Regions from separate parts of the Homo sapiens genome. Here region 2 is linked to region 1. The links are contacts of gene promoters, found by promoter capture Hi-C in blood cells and fetal thymus (Javierre and others, 2016). All regions are on one chromosome and are shown on one strand. Each heading gives the region's core, a stretch centred on a gene start or on the middle of the fragment in contact. The rest is flanking DNA. Distances are from core to core; before and after follow the strand shown.

What was found. Contacts are between HindIII fragments. The CHiCAGO score rates a contact against its expected background, and 5 or more counts as called.
Region 2: a contact is called between a fragment that was not itself captured here and the fragment with the promoter of CCDC92 in region 1, in 3 of 17 cell types (total B cells, activated CD4 T cells and monocytes). The highest score is 6.5, in total B cells.

What each region holds. Positions count from the first base shown.
Region 1 is chr12:123,971,265-123,974,379 of GRCh38, reverse strand. It overlaps CCDC92 (coiled-coil domain containing 92), which reads left to right and starts at 1,549. Exons shown (of 5, transcript NM_025140.3): 1 at 1,549-1,851. It overlaps ZNF664-RFLNA (ZNF664-RFLNA readthrough), which reads right to left and starts at 1,165. Exons shown (of 5, transcript NM_001347902.2): 1 at 1,077-1,165; 2 at 360-494. ZNF664 (zinc finger protein 664) reads right to left here and starts at 1,165. Exons shown (of 5, transcript NM_152437.3): 1 at 1,028-1,165; 2 at 360-494. RefSeq lists silencers at 597-826, 937-1,016, 1,087-1,956, 1,987-2,106 and enhancers at 1,327-2,064, 2,065-2,802. The HindIII fragment of the contact is 3,963 bases long and covers 1-2,521 here.
Region 2 is chr12:124,865,910-124,868,675 of GRCh38, reverse strand. It overlaps LOC105370050 (a long non-coding RNA gene), which reads right to left. Exons shown (of 3, transcript XR_945488.3): 2 at 2,000-2,078. Among named protein-coding and RNA genes, the nearest start is that of SCARB1, 3.4 kb to the right of the region's middle. RefSeq lists enhancers at 980-2,179, 2,608-2,766. The HindIII fragment of the contact is 4,035 bases long and covers 1-2,766 here.

The sequences.
Region 1 (3,115 bases), core at 300-2,799:
TTCCTTGAAGAAGGCAATAGCTCAGAAATCTTTTTTCGGTATCTGGTCTCCTTTGTTGCAATAAGACAGCCCGTAAGCAATCTAGCAACCAGAACAGTTCAGTTCGGAGCAGGCTCCCGGGGAGATTTAGTTGTTAGAGTTCGGCAAGAAAGGTTTCACAAAGGAGCTGAGTTCTGGGGGAAATGAGAGGTGATGTGGCGGAGAGATGGATCCGGACGGGAAAATGTCTGGGAGGGGGTATACGGAGTTCATGAGAAGCCGGGGACAGTGAGAAAACTGCAGTCGAGTCCTGGAAGGGGTGAGAACGCCTGCGGAGGCGGGAGTCAGAGGGAAGTGGACAGCGCCGGCAGCCGGTTTACCTGGGTGAGAATCCGGCCCTTGTTGTGGTCAAACAATGGAGGCGTCCGGCGGCAGCAGCCTTCTGCGCTGGGTGCGCGAGGGGTTCCTCATCACCTGAGCGGGATGCTCGCCTCCTCTGCCGGACGCAGGGCGCCCTGAAAAACACACAGCACCCCATGCAGCCGGCTCCTCCGCAGCCGCCCGGCTCCCCGGTCCCCTGGCGCGGCCATGACCGCCTCTCCCGGGACCCGCCTGGAAGGGCTCCAAGACGCGGCTCCACGGGCGACGAGGGCGGCAGCGCTCCCCCTTCCCTCGGCTCCAACAACAATGGAGCCTGGCTCGGGAGTCCGGCTCCCGAGGGGCCTCGCCCGGCCTCGCCCTGCCCGCTGCCCAGCCCTCGCTCGCACCGGCCGCCATCTGCGCCCCCCGGCCCCGCTCCCCCGCACTGCGGGCCCGCGGCCGACCGCCCGAGGCCCGAGGGGCGGCTTCTCAGCCCGGGACCCGCCAGGCTGCGCGGAGCCGCTCTGACCTTCCCCGCCATCCCGAGGCCCATCCTCCGGGATGGGTTGTTTTTCTTTTCTTTAAGCCACTCCACCTCCTTCCCACCCCCAGCCCGCTCCCTGGCCCCCGGCCCCCGCCTCCCTCCGGGAAAGAAAGAAAGACTGCAGCCCGGCCGCCGAGAACTCACTCCAAGTGAGGGGAGTCAGCGCCCCAGGCCGCGGGCGCCGCGCACCCACCTCCCTCTCCTCAGGGACACCTCACAGGTGCGCCTCCGAGCCGCGCGCGCGCGCGCTCCGCACACCCAGACGCCTCCGGGGGACAGCGCGCGTGCGCACGCACGAGGCCGGGGAAGCCCCGGGGGAGCGGGGGCCGCACGCATGCGCGGCCACCCGGCCCGCGCCCCCACCGCCCGCCTCCGCCCCCGCCCCCCAGCCCCGGCCCGGTCGGGCCCGGCCATCCCCCACCCCAGCGCCCGGCGCGCGCGCTCCCGCTCGCCTCCCTCGCTCCTCCCCGCGCCCCCCCCTCCCTCGGGCCGCGTTACCCAGGGCAACCGCAGTGCGGCCGCACCTGAGCTGTGCGCCTGCGTCCCGCGGGCCCGACCCTCCCTTCCCCTCGGCCTTCGCCCCTGCCCCGCCACAGCCGGGCGGAAGGGGGCGTAGCCCCGCCTCGCCAAGTGAATATCGGCCCGCCGCCCCCGCCCAGCCCGGCAGACACAGGCCCGCCGCCGCGCCGGCGCCTAGCCCGCCGGGTCAGCGCGGCCAGGCCTCGCCGCCGGCCCCGCTCCCAGGGTGCACCGCGGCTAGCGCTGGGGTGGGAGCGGGCGAGATGCGCCGGGCGGGCGGTGCCCACTGACCTCCCTCGGCGGCCCGGCCCGGGCAGCGCCCGAGCCCAGGCAGCCCCGCCCGCCGCGCCCCGCCCAGCCCATGGGCCACGGGCCCCCACCGCCGCCCGCCGGGAGGACCGAGCCTAAGAGGGCAGCCGCCTGAAGGAACGCGACGGCGGCGCCCGCAGGTGAGGCGGGGCCCGGGGTGTGTCGAGTCCGGCCCCGCTCACCTGGCAGCGCCGGCGGGGGCGGAGGGGCCGGGCAGGGGCGGAGGGGCCGGGCAGGGACGGGAGTTCGTGGCGAAGACTTTAAAAACCCTCCCCGCCGGGAGACGGGGGACGGGGTCCTCCTGCCCCACCTCCGGGGCTTGGGAGCCACGTTAGCTCCCCCAGGGGCAGGGGTGGCCCCGGGCGAAGGCAACTCGGGAGACGGCGGAGTCGGGGAAAGAGGGTCCCTGAGGCTCGGCGACCCCCGCGCCCGCCCCCGCGGGGTCTGCCGGCCCTTTCTGGGGAGGGGGCTCCCCGGCCCGGGCTCCAGTCCAGGGTGCGGACCGGCCGCGGCGCGCGCCCACCCCAGTGCCAAGGGGGAGGAGAGGCCGGTCCCGGGGCGCTCCTGTCTGCCCCGGGGTGGGATCGCAGGGCGAGGGATCCGCATTGCAGGTGCACCAGGAGCGCCCCGGGGCCTAGCCCGGCTTTGTCTGGGATGCTGTGGGGAGGAGGCCGTCTGAATCCACATCGCCTTTTTAAATGCTTGTTACCACCCGGGGAACCTTAGAGACCCTCCCTGACAAGTTGTATCGCCTCCCGTCCTGGTAGCCTTTCCGTAAGTACACTACCTTGCCAGCCCCTTCCTGAAGCTTTGATGCGGCTTTAGTTTACTCTGAGTAACGATTTGCCTGTGATTCGTGAAACGGAGCAGAATGCACAAACGCAGCAGAGCTCCAGGCTTGGCTACTGGGCTGCCGTCTGCTACGGCGAGTGAGTTTCTCTAACTTAGGTTTTCATGCTGACCTGTATTGTTTCATTTCAAGTTTTGGTATTTAGCAGTACGATCTAGTCCACTAAGGAAAATTAGGCTGCCAGAGAGAAAATATAACCGCGCTCTGTAGCTTAGGTTGCAGTAGTCGGTTTTATAACAAAATGCAAGCTACCACGCTGTAATACTTTAACATATTACGCAGTTCCAGAAACCTGTAAGAGTATTAAAACTAGGATTGCCATTTTAAAACTTTTACGTTTGAAATTTATTTAAAGAGCATTGGTATTGATAAAACGACTTTTCTTTTTTTTTTTTTTTGCTCATCAAGAATTCCCATGCATTTTCTCGCTATTGCATTGTAAGGAAAAAGATGCTAACGTTTAAAGTGGCTTTTACCTCCAAAGATGTTTTGAAATGTATGTAATTCTTTTGGCTAACTGTTCATCTTATGTGAAATATGCTTGGAAGAAGGCT
Region 2 (2,766 bases), core at 265-2,764, 890 kb before region 1:
GTGCGTTTTGACTTTGTCTCTCTAGTATGAGATGTGGTGATCTTGTGGGCCATGGTGAGGGCTTTGGCTTTTATGCTGAATGAGGTGGGAGCCACGGAAAGGTTTCTTTCTTTTTGTTTTCTTGAGAGACAGGGTCTCACTGTGTTGCCCAGGCTGGAGTGCAGTGACACAATCACAGCTCACTCACTGCAGCCTCGACTTCCTGGGCTCACGTGATTCTCCCACCTCAGCCTCCTCAGTAGCTGAAACTAGAGGTGTGTGCCACTTTACCTGGCTAACTTTTTATTTTTTGTAGAGATGGTGTCTGGCTGTGTTGCCCAGGCTGATCTCGAACTCCTGGCCTCAAGGGATCCTCCTGCCTCAGCCTCCAAAAGCACTGGGATTATAGGCATGGGCCACCATGCCTGGCCATTTCTTTAAAATAACAGTTTTCATTGAGATATAATTTGCATATCATACATTCACCCATTTAAAGTATATAATTTGGCCAGGCATGATGGCTCACACTTGTAATCCCAGCGCTTTGGGAGGCCAGGGTGGGAGGATGACCAGAATTTTGAGAGCAGCCTGGGCAACAAAGTGAGACCCTGTCTCAACAAAAATGAAAACATCAGGTGTACATAGTGGCATATACTTGTTGTCCAAGCTAGTCAGGAGGCCGAGGCGGGAGGATGGTTTGAACCCAAGACTTCAAGACTGCACTCCAGCCTGGGTGACAGAGTGAGACCCTGTCTCTTGAAAAAAAGAAAAAGTAAATAAAGTGTGTAATTTGATGGTTTTTTGTATATTCACGGAGTTGTGCAACCATCATTACCATCACTTTTACCGTCACTTTTAGAACATTTTCACCACTCCAAGATGAAACCCCAAACCTGTAGCAGTCACTCCTCATTCTCCCCAGCCCCTGGCAACCACTGGTCTACTTTTTGTCCCCATAGATGTGCCTACTATGGACATTTTATATAAGCAGAATCATACATGTGGCCTTTGTGTCTGGCTTCTTTCACTTATCAATGTTTTCAAGGTTCATCCATGGTGTAGCACGCGTCAGCCCTTCATTCCTTTTTATGCTGAGTCATATTCCAGTGCGTGGTTATGCCACATTTTATTTACCTATTCACCAGCTGATGGGGGTGTGGGTTATTTTCACTGCTTGGCTGCTGTGAACATTTGTGTCCAGGCTTCCGTGTGGACATGCTCTTTCCTTTCTCCTGGGCATATACCCAGGAGTGGAACTGCTGGGTCTTAGGGGACCCCTATGTTTACCTTTTGAGGCTGCACCATTTTACAATCCCACAAGCACCTCAAGAGGCTTCCAACTCCTCCAGGTCTTTGCCTGCAGTCATTCTCCGTCTTTGATCACGAAAGGACTCTGAGCAGAGGAGGAAAAGCATCTGACTTGATTTTCCAGGAGCCCTGTGACACCATGTTGATCATATTTTGTTATCAGCACTCTTTCTTTTCTTCTGTATCTTCGACTTTCCCCAGGGCAAGACCTCTCTCTCAAACATGACGAAGTCTTTTTTTCCCTTCTTAAGCTGCCCTCCCTGCCACCGGAAGTGACTCCCCTCAGCAAGGCCAAGGTGGCTCACGTGTCCCATCACCCTTTCATCTCTGCCCTTCTCTCTCGAGTGACAGCATGGCGTGACATGAGGGCTCTCCAGCCATGGCCTTGCAGCCCTCTTGGGTAAGCATCACGTACATTTGGACCTTGAAGACTTGGTCATGAATCAGAGTTAGATTGGGTGAGATGGTCAAGGCAGGTCAGTATCAAGGAAGTGGAGGAGGGTGTCAGGGCCAGGCAGACCGCAGATTTTAGTTAACTGGCTAATTTCCGAGAACTACAAAAGTCATTAAAAAAAAAGGCAACTGCATAGCTGAAGGCTGTTGAAGGCCTTAAGGAATTCAATGAAGTGATATTAATTAATTAATCAATCGATCAGTTACTTGATTAATTAATGAGTTAATTAGCTGATTGAGTAAAGTATTTATTGAGTACCTGCTATGTGCCAGGCATTTTTCCAGGTGCTGGAGATACATCGATAAGCAAAACAGGGTCAGCTTCTGTCTCTCGGGAGCTGGAGGAGATGAACAAGGAAACAGATAAGACCATTTCACACAAAGCAAGGTGGCCTGACAGAGTGGGCTGGGACTCCTGTTTTCAACAGATGCAACAGCAAAGGCTTCTCTGAGGAGTGGGTTTCAGCTGAGCCCAGAAGAGGAGAGTGGGGAGCCATGGAAGGATCTAGGGGAAGCGTATCCTAGACAGAGGAACAGGAAGTGCAAAGTTCCTGACACAAGAAAAAGCTGGGGATGCTCAATGAACTGAAACAATGGGGGAGAGGGCAGGAGATGGAGGCAGAGAGATGGGCAGGCGCCAGTTCATGTGGGTCCGGAAAATAACGACGACACTCCCCAGCTCAGTTGCACTGACACATTCCAGGGACTGTTCTAAGCACTGGCACATTTTTTGACTTGTTTAATCCTCATGGTAGCCCTTGGAAAGGGGCTCTTCTAATCCCCGTTTCGTAGATGAGGAGACTGAGGCACAGAAAGGCCCAAACCACTTGCCCCAGGACTCCAATGTGGGAAACCCCAGAGCCTGGATTTCTCTGAACCTGTCCCCCGGGGCTACCACAGTCTCACCTCAGCCACTCTGACCTCCCTCAGGAGTTGGGCCCTGCCCCTTGGGGCACTGGACCATATTCGGCCTCCTTAGAGGAAGGCAGTGCCAGGCAAAGCTGTCTAACGAGAACATAGCAGGTG